Regions from separate parts of the Homo sapiens genome. Here regions 1, 3, 4 and 5 are each linked to region 2. The links are contacts of gene promoters, found by promoter capture Hi-C in blood cells and fetal thymus (Javierre and others, 2016). All regions are on one chromosome and are shown on one strand. Each heading gives the region's core, a stretch centred on a gene start or on the middle of the fragment in contact. The rest is flanking DNA. Distances are from core to core; before and after follow the strand shown. Region 1 overlaps MTMR3 (myotubularin related protein 3). Region 2 holds the start of NF2 (NF2, moesin-ezrin-radixin like (MERLIN) tumor suppressor). Region 3 overlaps HORMAD2 (HORMA domain containing 2). Region 4 overlaps HORMAD2-AS1 (HORMAD2 and MTMR3 antisense RNA 1). Region 5 overlaps MTMR3 (myotubularin related protein 3).

Region 1 (2,700 bases), core at 140-2,639, 390 kb before region 2:
CAGTAAATCTAAAATAACTTTCTTCCTTGAAAACATACACAGTCCTAGGGCAGCATGTTATTTTAAAAAATATTAAGCAGAACCTCTAATATATAGTGGTACAGGTTGTAAAATAAGTGCTAGCAGGGCTGGAAGAAACCACAACAACAAAAGCACAAAACAGATTTCACTTTAGTGTTCAGAGTATAAAGCTTTGTTCTCCCTGGGAGAGGAGCTACAGAATAGGAAACAGCAATTACTTGGATGGAAGACAATTCTGTTAAACTACTTCCCATTTAAACTGCTTTTCTTGAGCTCAAGCTAGGTATTATACATTTCCTGAAGGAGAGCTATAAAAAGATGAGGTTGAGAGAATATGAGGTGCAAGAAGAAATAAAAACTAAATCCATCCCATTTTGGAAAAGTTTTAGAAGCAATGTAGCAGGCTTCCAAACAGGAAAAAACTATCTGAATTGGGGTGCCATCTGTCTACAAATTGCAAGGAATATTGACCATCAAGAATACTAGGCCAGACGCGGTGCCTCACACCTGTAATCCCAGCACTTTGGGAGGCTGATGCAGGCAGATTGCTTGAGCCCAGGAGTTCAAGACCAGCCTGGGCAACATCTGGTCAACCCCATGGGCAACCCCATCTCCACAAAAATGCAAAAATTAAGTTGTGGTGGTCCATGCCTATAGTCCCAGCTACTTGAGAGGCTGAGGTGGGAGGATCACCTGAACCTAGGGAAGTTGAGGCTGCAGTGAGCCATCATCACACCATTGCACTCCAGCCTGGGCAACAGAGTGAGACCCTGTCTCAAAAAAAGGGGAAAAAAACAAAACAAAACGAACAAAAAAAACAGACAAGGAGTCTTTAATTCATAATCCCAATCTAAAAGCTGCAAAACTGTGGCAAATTCCAAGTTCATTAAGAGATTTTTTCCCCCGACTCTGGGATATAGCTCCAAGTCTTTGCAAAAGCTGTAAGTATTTCATTAATGATTTATTTTTTTTGTGCTTTTCTTGAACTGTACATTAATGATCTTTTACATTAACACCTCTATCTCAGGATAAAACACATAGATACCCTTAAAGGATCTTGTGATTTAAAAATAACCACTGGCAAAATAATAACAGTAACAATCACTATCACTAGCAATTTACTTCATAGAACCATTTCCCCAAAGAAGGACTTAGAACCACCATCCAGAGCACAACATTCTGAGCTATACGCAGAAATATATACTGACTAGCAGGTATAGAAAATCTGTTATTTCGAGTTCTTTGGGAATGGGAATGAGTTTTAATTATTTTTATATCCTCTAAGGCAGTGACTTCATAAACTCTGAAACTGACCATCACAACCCACAATAAGAATTATGTTTTACAACACAATACAACAAACATGTTTTAATTTATTCAGTTTTTGAGAGACCGGGTTTTCCCTCTGTTGCCTAAGCTGGATTTGAACTCCTAAACTCAAACAATCTTCCCACCTCAGCCTCTTGAATAGCTAGGACTATAGGTAGACACTGTGCCCAGCTAATACAACATACATTATTTTTTTGAAAGCATTTCACAAAACAATACCCACTCTTAATATGTGTGTGACACAATTTGATATTTTCTATTCCATTTCTTTAAAATTAGATTTCATGACCCACTACTGGATCATAACCTATTTGAAAACCACATCATTACATACATCAGGAATTCAACCAGCTTTTGCAAATTGTGTGAGATGTTCACTCACGTTTACTTAGCCAGAAAAATAAACACAAACAGATCTATTGCTGGATTCCCCTTAAAAATCTCCATCTCAGAATTCTCAGGTCTCAATCAATTCAACATTAAATACATTGTGATATCCCAACTTTCTTTAAATACTGGGGCTATAAGGTTTTTGTTTGGCTTTATATTTCCATTTCAACCCTTCCTATCTGCCTTTGTCCCTTTTCAGCATTTAGTGTTTCTTATAATAAAAATAATACAGTCCAGCAATTTTCACTTTAGTGGAAATGAAAACTTTCTTTTTAAAAGCAATGAAGTTCCCTAACTCCCTCTATCACAAACACAGTGTCAATCAGCAATCTAAAAAATTTTCCCCCAAAAGTCTAGCTCCCTGGCTGATCCTGAGTAGTCAAGCCCACAATTACACACAGCTTAAAAGGCCTGGGACAGAAGGGACAGGCCTTTACCTGGCAGGTGAGGAAGCAGACCAATACCAGAGTCAGAGAAGGTAAGAACTACCTCTTAGCAGATTTTCAAATACGGAGAAAGGAATTATGCTTTTCTATGTACAAAGGTCACAGTAAATCCTCTAGATGCAACTTCCTGGACTGCATTCAAACCCGGAAGACAGATAAATAGGCAGCTTCACAGCAGTGTTAAGACCCAGAGTCATATGCTAGTCGTGGATAAACAAGATGGGCTTAAGGGACATTTCACATGAGAGAGGTTAGAGAGGTAGGCCTGATGCTACTAAACTGGCAGCTAAGCTGCCCAGTCATCTGTCAGGCCTCCAGATTAACACTCTAGTACAGAGCCATCACCAACAAGTCAATTGCAATGAGGAGCAGGAAGTTAAGGACATGGGAGAGAAGCTTTTAGCTTTCAGTCCACTTTTTTAGAGTTTGAGGGGCTAAGAGAAGGGTCAAGAATTTGGCAAAGGCTTCTGCAGGTTTCACAGGTAAACTCCAACAGCAATGTTGAAACTTCTTC
Region 2 (2,716 bases), core at 185-2,684:
CAGGGTTGCAGTAAGCCATGATCACACTACTGCATGCCAGCCTCGGTGACAGAGTGAGATTCTGTCTCAAAACGAAACAAAACAAAAAAGAATTTTCACCAGTTTTACAGAGGAATGGGTTCCTTAAGCTGTCATGCTGGAAGCTGATCTTATCTAAGGCTGCTTTTGTGTTACAATGGTAGAGTTGAAGAGTTGAATAACTCCAACAGAGATTCTCTAGTCTACAAAGTTGAAAATATTTACTATGTGGTCCTGTACAGAAAAAGCATGCCAACCCTTGCTTACTGCTGCCAATGCTGCTGGTCCACAAACCACACTTTTAGCAGCAAGAACTTAAATTACTTGAGAAGCAGTACTGTACGGGCTGTGAGCTTGGTTCAAAACCCCACCTTGCCATTTACTAGATAAATGGGTTTGTTCTGAGGATTAAATGTGCAAATGTCTAGCACTTTGAAAATACTGAACAATTGATAGCTGTTATCATCATGTTGGAAACTATGTGGAAAGTAAGTATGAGATGTTATATCGTTCTTCAAAGGGTTTTTTTTCCCAGAATATGCAAGCTTTAGAAAAGGGAAACAAGTATTGGCTTTCCAATAAACAAGACGCAACTTCTAATACCTGGGTACATAACAATATTACCTAATGAAAGAATAAACTTTCAAGCTTTTAAGCGTAAGCCTAACTTAAGCCTGACACTGAAATCCTGAATTTTCTATCACAGGAGCATCCAGCTTCTTCCAATAACAATGAATGAAAATAACCTTCAGGAAATGCCAAAACCCAAAAGTCCTATGAAAAAAAGCAGCAATCATCTTTAACATGAGGTTTTGGGCCTAGTTGGCCCTTCCGGTTCTGCCCGTCTCTAGCTACACCCATAAGATGATATAAAGAGAACCTCTCGAGCTTCCACCTCGACTGTCACCGCAGCAGTCGGGGCTGCCGGCCGGTTACCTCGCAATTGAACTCCATCTCGGCGTCCATGGTGACGATCCTCACGGTGAACGTCTTGGGTTGCTTCCTCTTGAGAGAGCTGAAGCTCATGCGGGAAGCGATGGCCCCGGCCATGGCGCGGGGCTCAGGCCCGGGACCCTCGCGCCCCACGGCCTGCACTCTGAGCCCTTTAGCCCCCCTGGAGTTGCTGCACAGGCCTCAGGGCCACCATGGTGGCCGGCTGCCCGGCCCGGGAACGGTCTGGGCTGCGCGGGTCCCCAGCGGCCAGCATGGGCCGCGAGGACCCTGCCTGAGCGGAAAGGGGAGTTGGGGGACGGGCCCTGACGGCTGCAGGGAGGGCACAGGAGCCGGGACCTTCGGTGCAGGCGCGACCCGGCACTCCGGGATTCGGGCCGGAGATGCCGGGGACGCCTCGGGACGGGACCCCTAGACGGCAGCGGCCCAGACTCCGCGCGCCTCTCAGCGGCCGACTAGGGTCACGGGGCCGCGCTGCATCGGGCGCGTACGCGCGCGCGTGGCTGTCACCGTCCTCACTCCGCGCGCCCGCGGGAAGCGCACCCTCCCCACAGCCCGGGGCCTGCTCCCGGCCCCGCCCTCAGGTCGCCCAGACCACTACGCGCAGCGCAACCGAACCGGAGGCTGACGCATAGATGCTGCGATTGGCTGGGAAGGCCAAGGTAGGCAGGACTTTCCCGCTCCGTCCCGCCTCCTTTGGGGTGACTCCACCAATGGAAAGTTTCACTCTAACTGCAAAAAAAGCAGGCCTAGGCTCGGCGTTGAGTGGCTACAGTGGCAGTCACTCTGAATGCTTTTGTGCCTACTCTAACAAGACTGGTTGAGGCGGCGGACCTCTGCTGACCTTACCCGGGAAACCACTTAGAGGCTGGATCCGGGGCGAGGGGAATTGGGTCCTTCGTTGGCCCAGGGAGGGACTCTTCGGTTCAAGTAGGCTCCGAGTGTGGCGCCCCAGGGGACTGCGTTTCGGACACACGGCGAATATTCTTCTTTGGCAGTTAATCACATATACCGACCCCTATGAAACTTTAAAGACACTTGTGGAGGCCTGTTAGGTTTGCTGGCACTTTCCCGCCAGATCCCTCTGCTTCCCTTTAGAATTATTATTATTATTGTTATTATTATTATTATTAATTATTATTATTATTGGGACGGAGTTTCGCTCTTGTTGCCCAGGCTGGAGTGCAGTGGCGCGATCTCGGCTCACTGCAACCTCCGCCTCCCGGGTTCAAGCGATTTTCCGGCGTCAGCCTCCCGAGTAGCTGGGATTACAGGTATGCGTCACCACGCCCGGCTAATTTTGTATTTTTATTAGAGACGGGGTTTCTCCATGTTCGTCAGGCTGGTCTCGAACCTCAGGTGATCCGCCCGCCTCGGCCTCCCGAAGTGCTAGGATTACAGGCGTGAGCCACCACGCCCCGCCTAGAATTATTATTGGTTATACCTACCTCGTGAGGTTGTTGAATTTCAGCGCACTGAATACATATAAGGCTTTAGAGCTGAGCCTGGCATCCTATGAAATTGCTGAATTTGGGTTGAAAATGAAAGCATTCTTTATTTTATACTCTATGATGCCCATTTTTGAACCGTATTCATGTATTATTTATTTAGTGTCATCAAGGGTTCTAACGGGTGTAGGGGGGATAATTACACCTTTCTGTACTTAGATAATAAATTCTATTTTAAAATAGCTCTTAGTAGTCAAATAGGGACAATTTACTGTGTTTTTTCGTTTGTTTTTTGTTTT
Region 3 (2,782 bases), core at 85-2,584, 500 kb before region 2:
AAGTAGTCCAAGATCAATCACTGATTTATGTGTGATTTTGCATAAGCAACTTCACCTTTTCGTATTGTTTTCCTATACTAAAATTGATGTTACCTGTATCTCTATTGAGGGATATGAAAATTATCCCATGTTGATATAACATTCAGAAATTACAAGAGAGTGACACAGGAGTATTAAGCATTTTTATGATGTATATTACTTTAAGAACAAACATTGAAAGGGAGACATAAAACTTCCACAATAACTGTCACAAAAAATAAAGCTATAGGGAATGGTATCATTGCCGTTGCCTAGGGTAGTGACTGGCACACAATATGTGCTTATTATCAAAAATATGTCTTTCTCAATTCTATGTTCTAGACAAGAGGGAAAATTACAAATATATGTTAGATATAAACACATTCACTATTACAAGTTTGTATCTCATAGACCAAAAGATGTCATAATACAAATGAGGTTGTCATGATTGCAAATATCATGTTTATGTGCTTATAGCACACATGCATTTTATTGATGCTCTTACATTACTTAAGATAATTTTTTTTTTTGAGACAGAGTCTCACTGTATCACTCAAGCTGGAATTCAGTGGTGCAATCACAGCTCACTGTAGCCTTAACCCCCCAGGCTCAGATGATCCTCCCACCTCAGCCTCCAGAGTAGCTGGAATTACAGGCACTCACCACCATGGCCAGCTAATTTTTTGTATTTTTTATAGAGACAGGGTTTCACCGTGTTGTTCAGGCTGGTCTTGGATTCCTAGGCTCAAGCAGTCTGCCCACCTTGCCTTTCAAAGTGTTATGGTTACACTTTGGATTACAAGCCTGAGCCACCATGCCCAACCAAGAGAATTAGACTGAAATGAGGCCAAGGTATATCATTAAATACAGATGTAAGAAATTTAAAATTAGATTTTGAAAAATAACATCTTACAAGGCAACTTGTAGCTCTCTATGTTTATTTTCCAAATGACAGTTCCTATTTTAGTGACAAGTCAACAAGATTCACAATCCAGCTTTTTTTTTTTTTAATACTTTAAGTTCTGGAATACATGTGCAGAAAGTGCAGGTTTGTTCATGTGCCATGGTGGTTTGTTGCAACCATCAACCCATCATCTAGGTTTTAAGCCCCACATGCATTAGGTATTTGTCCTAATGCTATTCCTTCCCTTGCCCCCCACCCCCCTACAGGCTCCAGTGTGTGATGTTCCCCTTCCTGTTTCCATGTGTTCTCATTGTTCAACTCCCACTTATGAGTGAGAACATACATAACACAGGTTTTCTGTTCCTGTGTTAGTTTGCTGAGAATGATGGTTTCCAGCATCATCCATGTTCCTACAAAGGACATGAACTAATTATTTTTCATGGGTACATAGTTTTCTATGATGTATATGTGCCACATTTTCTTTATCCAGTCTATCATTGATGGGCATTTGGGTTGGTTCCAAGTCTTTGCTATTGTAAATAGTGCTGCAATAAACATATGTGTGCATGTGTCTTTATAATAGAATGATTTATAATACTTTGGATATATACCCAGTAATGGGATTACTTGGTCAAATGGTATTTCTGGTTCTATATCCTTGAGGAATTGCCACACTGTCTTCCACAATGGTTGAACTAATTTACACTCCCACCAACAGTGTAAAAGCATTCCTATTTCTCTACATTCTCTCCAGCATCTGTTGTTTCCTGACTTTTTAGTGATTTCCGTTCTAACTGGCATGAGATGGTATCTCATTGTGGTTTTGATTTGCATCTCTCTAACGACCAGTGATGATGAGCTTTTTTTCATATGTTTGTTGGCTGCATAAATGTCTTCTTTTGAGAAGTGTCTGTTCATATCCTTTGCCCACTTTTTGATGGGGTTGTTTTATTCTTGTAAATTTGTTTTAAGTTCCTTGTAGATTCTGGATATTAAACCTTTGTCAGATGGATAGATTGGAAACATTTTCTCCCATTCTGTATGTTTCCTGTTCACTCTGATGACAATTTCTTTTGCTGTGCAGAAGCTCTTTGGTTTAATTAGTTCCCATTTGTCTATTTTGGCTTTTGTTGCAATTGCTTTTGGTGCTTTAGTCATGAAGTCTTTGCCCATGCCTATGGCCTGAATGGTACTGCCTAGGTTTTCTTCTAGGGTTTTTATGGTTTTAGGTATTACATTTAAGTCTTTAATCCATCTTGAATTAATTTTTGTATAAGGTGTAAGGAAGGGGTCCAGTTTCGGTTTTCTGCGTATGGCTAGCCAGTTTTCCCAGCACCATTTATTAAATAGGGAATCCTTTACTCAATGCTTGTTTTTGTCAGGTTTGTCAAAGATCAGATGGTTGTAGATGTGTGGTGTTATTTCTGAGGCCTCTGTTCTGTTCCATTGGTCTATATATCTATTTTGGTAGCAGTACCATGCTGTTTTGGTTACTGTAGCCTTGTAGCATAATTTGAAGTCAGGTAGCATGATGCCTCCAGCTTTGTTCTTTTTGCTTAGGATTTTCTTGGCTATATGGGCTCCTTTTTGGTTCCATATGAAATTTAAAGTAGTTTCTTCTAATTCTGTGAAGAAAGTCAATGGTAGCTTGATGGGAATAACATTGAATCTATAATTTACTTTGGGCAGTATGGCCATTTTCATGATACACAATCCAGCTTTTTAAACAAATAAGATTTTTGAAAACTTGTTGAGTCCTAGGTACTTGGGTTTTTTGTTTTTGTTTTTGTTTTTGTTTGTTTTTCTGAGATGAAGTTTTGCTCTTGTCACCCAGGCTGGAGTGCAATGGCACGATCTTGG
Region 4 (2,700 bases), core at 45-2,544, 440 kb before region 2:
GAGATAATGTGAAATACGACTGTGGACCAAATGCAATAAAACATCTGTTTGTAAGAAGAGAAAAAAAAGAAAAAAGAAAAATTCACAATGGCCAATAAACATATGAAAATATTCTTAATCCCATTAGTGAGCAGGGAAATGCCTTAGGGCCTAGACGCAGGAGAAGGAGGTCATTCTTTTTGTTTAGAAGATAATCCCGATCCTTCATTTTGGCACAGCTGAAACACAAATTGGCACACCAAGAATTAATGGATCAATGAAGAGCAAGAGTTCTCCAGGTAGGAAATAAGAAGACTGGAACATGAGCATACAAACCATGCTAAAGGAAGAGCCTTCTTGGGCAATGTCTATATATGTGGAATTAAATCTTCAGAAGAACAGTCCATGCAGTGTCTGCTCATTGCAGAGCTCTCAGTTCAGAAACAATAGCCACTTTCGAGAGCACTACTGGAGAGGTAGCTCAGCCCACTCTTGAGAACCCCAGGCCAGTCCCATTTCCCACAAGCCAGCTGTAATAAGGAGTAAATCTGGGGTGTGGGGTATTGAGTAGGGCACAGGGCCAGGAAAAACAAGTTAGAGAGTCTCTAGGCACCGGTGAGTCATGTTGATCATATGATAGATCAATTCAAATGAGGTAATAAATGACTAAAGTGCACTTCTAGGCTAGCACATAGTTGTGGCAAGAGGAGTTTGTCTTCTTTTTTCTTATTCCCAAACCAGCACGATTTGTCTTCAGTGACCCTTACAGCATTCTTTGTGCTGACAATGAGTGGGTCAGCTTGGTCTTTTCTGGAGGATAGACGAAGAGCTAAAAGTATCCAAAAGAAACCAGATAACAAAAACCTGAAGCCTGAAGACATTTTTCTTGTGTGTCAAAGTCCTAATTTTAGACCCAGTTGAAGGCTCATTATCCAACATATTACAGTATGGAATTGTACCTCTGCTGCATCTAGAAGGAACTGTCCATCACCAGAAAGAAAACAGCCTGCTCAGTCGATCTTCAACATTCATGGATTCCGGTGATGGCAAAAGTGATTCCTGACTTTCACAGTCAGTTGCTTTTTGATCTCTCTTTCGAGTCACCCTCAGAGGATACCTGGGTACCCATTTCTCTTCCTGGTTACTCTCCTCTTTCTCCATCCACTACCCACCCCACCCCTGCCCTGAGTCCTCGTTCCAGTCTTGACTGTAGTAACAGTCCTGGGCCTTCTCCTAAATACAGCATAAACCAGACCAACAAACCTTTCTCTTGAGGGTTCTGATAGTCCCCAGCCATCCTTCCATGACTTATGCTAAGCAGCTCTCTCTCTCTCTGGGTAAAAAGGGCAAGGAACAAAAGGATTCTGTGAAACAGGAAATCCTTTTCTTCCACAAAGTCAAACCAGATATTAGACTTTTGGGTTGGACATAAGTTTATTTGCATGTTTGTCTGCTGCTATGCTTTTATGCTTCAGAAGCTAGGCTGAGATTACAGGTTGAATGTCCCTTATCCAAAATGCTGGGACCAGAAGTGTTTTGGATTTTTTATTTTTTCGGATTTTGGAATATTTGCATTATCCTTAATAGTTCAGCATCCCTAATCTGAAAATCTGAAATCCAAAATGCTCCAGTGAACATTTCCTTTGAGCATGTCAGTTCTCAAAACGTTTCAGATTCTGGATTGGGGATGCCGAACCTGCAATAAATTGCTCCTCCCTTCGTCTCCCCACGGGTTCTATATTGTATTTAAGCTGCCCTCCCTCCCTTCCTGTAACTGTGAGTGCCAAAGCAACTCAGATGTGCCTCCACTCTAAGCTATAAAGAAATAATTAGCCACAGTTAATGGCCCATAATTTGTTATTTCTGTATCCTGTTCCTCAGGGTTCCCTCCTAAATTATTATCAGGAAGAAACATAAAACTACACATAAAACTGTATTTCATAGAAACAAAAAAAATTGAGCTCCTTTTTTTGCTTTGTCTCCCTGTGATTTGAAGAAGTTGGACTTCCTAGATGGAAATGAGGTTCACTGCCACGGATGGGAAAGGCTGCCGCACGTTGGTTTGCCTCATTATGTTGCAGACATACATACAGGACCGACTATATAATTTGTGGGAGGGACCTAGTGAAAAATGAAAGTGTGGGGTCCTTTGTTTAATGTTAGTAATTTCAAGACTGCAACAGAGGAGCATTAAACGGAAGGTGGGCCCTTCTGAGTGTGGGGTCGTGTGTAACTGCAGAGGCTGCACACCTATGAAGCCAGCTCTGCACACAGAGAATGGTCTCAGGACTAGAAAGACCAAGGGAACTCCACCCTGAGAAGGTCAGGAGAAAGCACGGGTGAGGTGGTGAATGGTGTGGCCAAGGACAGTGTCGTCTAGGTGGTTCTCTGAAATGCAATCTGCTTGGCACTGGATATTGGAGGGCCCAAGGATCAGAGGTACACGTATACATGAGGACGCTGGAAGGAAGCAGGGCGAAGGGTGTGAGAATGCTGAGATTGAAGGAGGGGTGGCACAGAGCGGGAGTTCTAGGCATGGAATCATCTTGTTTTGTTTTCAATCAACCCATTTCTTTCTTTTTTTTTTTTTTAACTGAAGTAGAATGTATCAAATTTAGATGAATGACCTTTTTCCCTCCAAATCTGCTCTTCCCGTTTCTTCATCTTGGTGAATGTGAATCAGTCCTCCTAGTTGATCAAGGCCGAAGCTGCGAGTTGTCT
Region 5 (2,700 bases), core at 156-2,655, 410 kb before region 2:
TCAGTATGAACTCTGATTAGCCTCCTTTTGACTTCTTTAGGGTCTAAGATGCATTCTGACAAAGCTAGTATTACTATGAAACTGACACATAGGTCTATGTGCCTCCTTTTCTCTGCTTAACAGAAGGTATTCATTCCTTCGGGGAACAAAGTCTTAAAGGGCCTGCCAGCTCTTCATGTGAGCAGAGAATCAGACAGACACACATACCAATGTCAAACACAGTTTACTGTTCTGAGACAGAAGCTTTGGTGGGTATCATTGCTTATTGACACTGGGAGGGTGCTGGGGGCCTGGTGGCAGCTCATTCTGAGCTATCAGTGCATCAGGAAGCAACTTAAGTGCCTCTCCCGTAAGACAGAATATGCTAGAAATAAGCTCTGGAGGCAGTGCCAAAAAAGATTCATGTCTAGGGTGGCAAAGTAGAGATCTGTGTTAAACCAAACCACCCTCAGCAAGTAGTCATCAGAAACAGATCAGAGCACCATCAGAAGCAGGCCTTCCTCAGGACAGAATCATGGGGGAAAAATGGAACCAGTCCATCCAGAGACAGTAGAGATGTCTTCACAAAAACAGTCACTACTCAAAAAGGCTCTCATATGTAACCAACCCCAAATTCCTTCTGCTGACCACAGTGGAAAGGCTGAAGGATACATACGGCTTCTGACTGAGAGGAATACAGTAGGTTTTTGAAAGCCTTGTTGCCTGCCCGAAGAAGTGACCACACGGAACATGTCCGTTCCTGAGTATGCTTTTCCCCTCTCTCCTTGGCGTTGTTGCACAGGAATGTTCCAAACAGGCAGGAATAGGTATGCTGCACCAGTTTCACCTATGGAAGTCCAATGAAGCACAAATTAAGCAATCAGGCATGCACACTCTGATAAGTCAGCTCAGCTGAGCCACCTTATCCTAACATCCCTGAGAACACTTCAATTTACTCTGTCAGGACGGGGAACCCAGTAAGCCATGCAGTAGCCTCCTCCTCCTCACACCACCAATTCCAGGACCCAACAACCTGAGTCAGACAGGTTGTTGGTGCCCCTATTCCTCTTAGCTTCCGTGATAAATAGTCTGAGATTGTGAATTAACAGCCACTCTCACAAGCGCCACAGCATATGAACTGGGTGCAGGAGCACGTCAGTGTACAACTCAAGTCTGAGCTGACAGTATGTTTGTAAAACTACTTGTTCATTCTACAAATTATTGAGCATTTCACATGGCCCAAACATGACTAAGGTGCTGGGCATGTAGCAATGACCAGCAAATTCTTCTGCCCTGATGGAGCTTGCTCTAGTCATAGCTGAAGAGTGACCAGTGCTATGGAGAACAAGGCAGACTGAGATGGACAGGACACATATGAGGCAGTGCAGGATGGCCTCACTGGCTGGGACCCAGTGGACTTGAAAGAGCAGGCATGTGGGTATCTGAGGGGAAGCACTCCAGGCAGAGGCAACCACAGGTGCAATGGCTTTGAGGTAAAGCACATGCTTGCAATTTCTGAGCTACAGCAAGGAGGCCAGTGTGACTAAAGGAGATTGCAGAAGAGGGAGAATGGTAGGAAATGAACCTAGAGAGGTAACCTCTAGGAAGGCCCTGGAGACCATTTTAAGAACTTTGGCTTTTGTGTAAAATGTAACTAGAGGTTTTTAAGCCAAGGAATGACACAGCCTGCCTTGTGTTTTAGAAGAGACTCTATGCTGGGATAACTCAATTGGGGCAGGAGATGATGGTGGCTTGAACCAGTGTGGTACCAGTAAAGGTGGCAATAAATAACCAGGTTTTAGATAGATTGCGAAAGCAGAGCTGCAGAATCTGACTGAATGTGGAAGAGGGAGGGAGGGAAGGAGGGAGGGAGGGAGGGAGGGAGGAGACTTGACGATGACAAAGAATTTTGCCCCAAACAAAAGGAGGGATGGAAATGCCATATGGTGAGAGAGAAGACTTCTGGAAGATCAAGTTTTATAGTGAGGAAACACAGGAATCAAGAATCAAGTTTTGGACAGGCATGGTGACTCATGCCTGTTAATACCAGCATTTTGGAAGGCCGGGGTGGGAGGATATTGTTTGAGCCCAGGTGTTTGAGACCTGCCTGGGCAACAAAGCAAGACCCCATCTCTTAAAAAAAAAAAAAAAATTAAAAACATCAGCCAGGCACAGTGGTACGCACCTGCAGTCCTAGCTACTCAGGGGGCTAAGGTGAGAAGATCACTTGACCCTGGGAGTTCAAGGCTGCAGTGGGCTGTGTTTGCGCCACTGTACTCCAGCCTGGGTGACAGAGTGAGATGCTGTCTCCAAAAAGAAGCATCAAGTTTTGAATTTATTAAGTCTGAATCAACATTAAGACAGCCAAGTGGAGATACCTAGTAGTAACTTAGATACGTGAGTCTGAAGTGGAGAGGTCTAAGCTGAAGGTGTATAAATGTGGGACTCATCAGCATACAGATGGCAATTAAAGCCACTAGAATGGATGAAATACTTGGAAGTGTGGATGGAGGAGCAGCCTGGAGGCTGAGCAAGGGGGCATTCCAACATTTAGAACTGGGGAGAGGAGGCTAGGTGTCGAAGCTTACGCCTGTAATTCTTTGGGCAACCAAGGCGGGAGAATCACTTGCCAGGAGGTTTGAGACCAGCCTGGGCAACATAGCGAGACTCCATGTCTATTTACAAAAAATTTTTAAAAACTAGCCAGGCATCTTGGCATGT

The links. The method cuts DNA at HindIII sites, captures the fragments that hold promoters and counts their contacts. A CHiCAGO score of 5 or more calls a contact.
Region 1: a contact is called between a fragment that was not itself captured here and the fragment with the promoter of NF2 in region 2, in 4 of 17 cell types (M1 macrophages, total CD4 T cells, neutrophils and 1 more). The highest score is 6.2, in M1 macrophages.
Region 3: a contact is called between a fragment that was not itself captured here and the fragment with the promoter of NF2 in region 2, in 1 of 17 cell types (naive CD4 T cells). The highest score is 7.4, in naive CD4 T cells.
Region 4: a contact is called between a fragment that was not itself captured here and the fragment with the promoter of NF2 in region 2, in 1 of 17 cell types (M0 macrophages). The highest score is 5.1, in M0 macrophages.
Region 5: a contact is called between a fragment that was not itself captured here and the fragment with the promoter of NF2 in region 2, in 1 of 17 cell types (total CD8 T cells). The highest score is 5.4, in total CD8 T cells.

What each region holds. Positions count from the first base shown.
Region 1 is chr22:29,994,843-29,997,542 of GRCh38, reverse strand. All of the region lies in intron 7 of MTMR3 (myotubularin related protein 3), which reads right to left. Among named protein-coding and RNA genes, the nearest start is that of MIR6818, 11 kb to the left of the region's middle. The HindIII fragment of the contact is 2,391 bases long and covers 194-2,584 here.
Region 2 is chr22:29,602,351-29,605,066 of GRCh38, reverse strand. NF2 (NF2, moesin-ezrin-radixin like (MERLIN) tumor suppressor) reads right to left here and starts at 1,434. Exons shown (of 16, transcript NM_000268.4): 1 at 955-1,434. The coding sequence starts at 1,068. RefSeq lists a silencer at 1,089-1,668 and an enhancer at 1,919-2,048. The HindIII fragment of the contact is 9,228 bases long and covers 669-2,716 here.
Region 3 is chr22:30,099,834-30,102,615 of GRCh38, reverse strand. The region is part of intron 3 of HORMAD2 (HORMA domain containing 2); the gene reads right to left. Among named protein-coding and RNA genes, the nearest start is that of HORMAD2, 21 kb to the right of the region's middle. The HindIII fragment of the contact is 7,543 bases long and covers 1-2,782 here.
Region 4 is chr22:30,042,471-30,045,170 of GRCh38, reverse strand. The region is part of intron 2 of HORMAD2-AS1 (HORMAD2 and MTMR3 antisense RNA 1); the gene reads left to right. Among named protein-coding and RNA genes, the nearest start is that of HORMAD2-AS1, 36 kb to the left of the region's middle. The HindIII fragment of the contact is 4,004 bases long and covers 1-2,700 here.
Region 5 is chr22:30,014,654-30,017,353 of GRCh38, reverse strand. MTMR3 (myotubularin related protein 3) reads right to left here. Exons shown (of 20, transcript NM_021090.4): 15 at 656-826. The region is part of intron 4 of HORMAD2-AS1 (HORMAD2 and MTMR3 antisense RNA 1); the gene reads left to right. Among named protein-coding and RNA genes, the nearest start is that of MIR6818, 9.0 kb to the right of the region's middle. The HindIII fragment of the contact is 2,319 bases long and covers 246-2,564 here.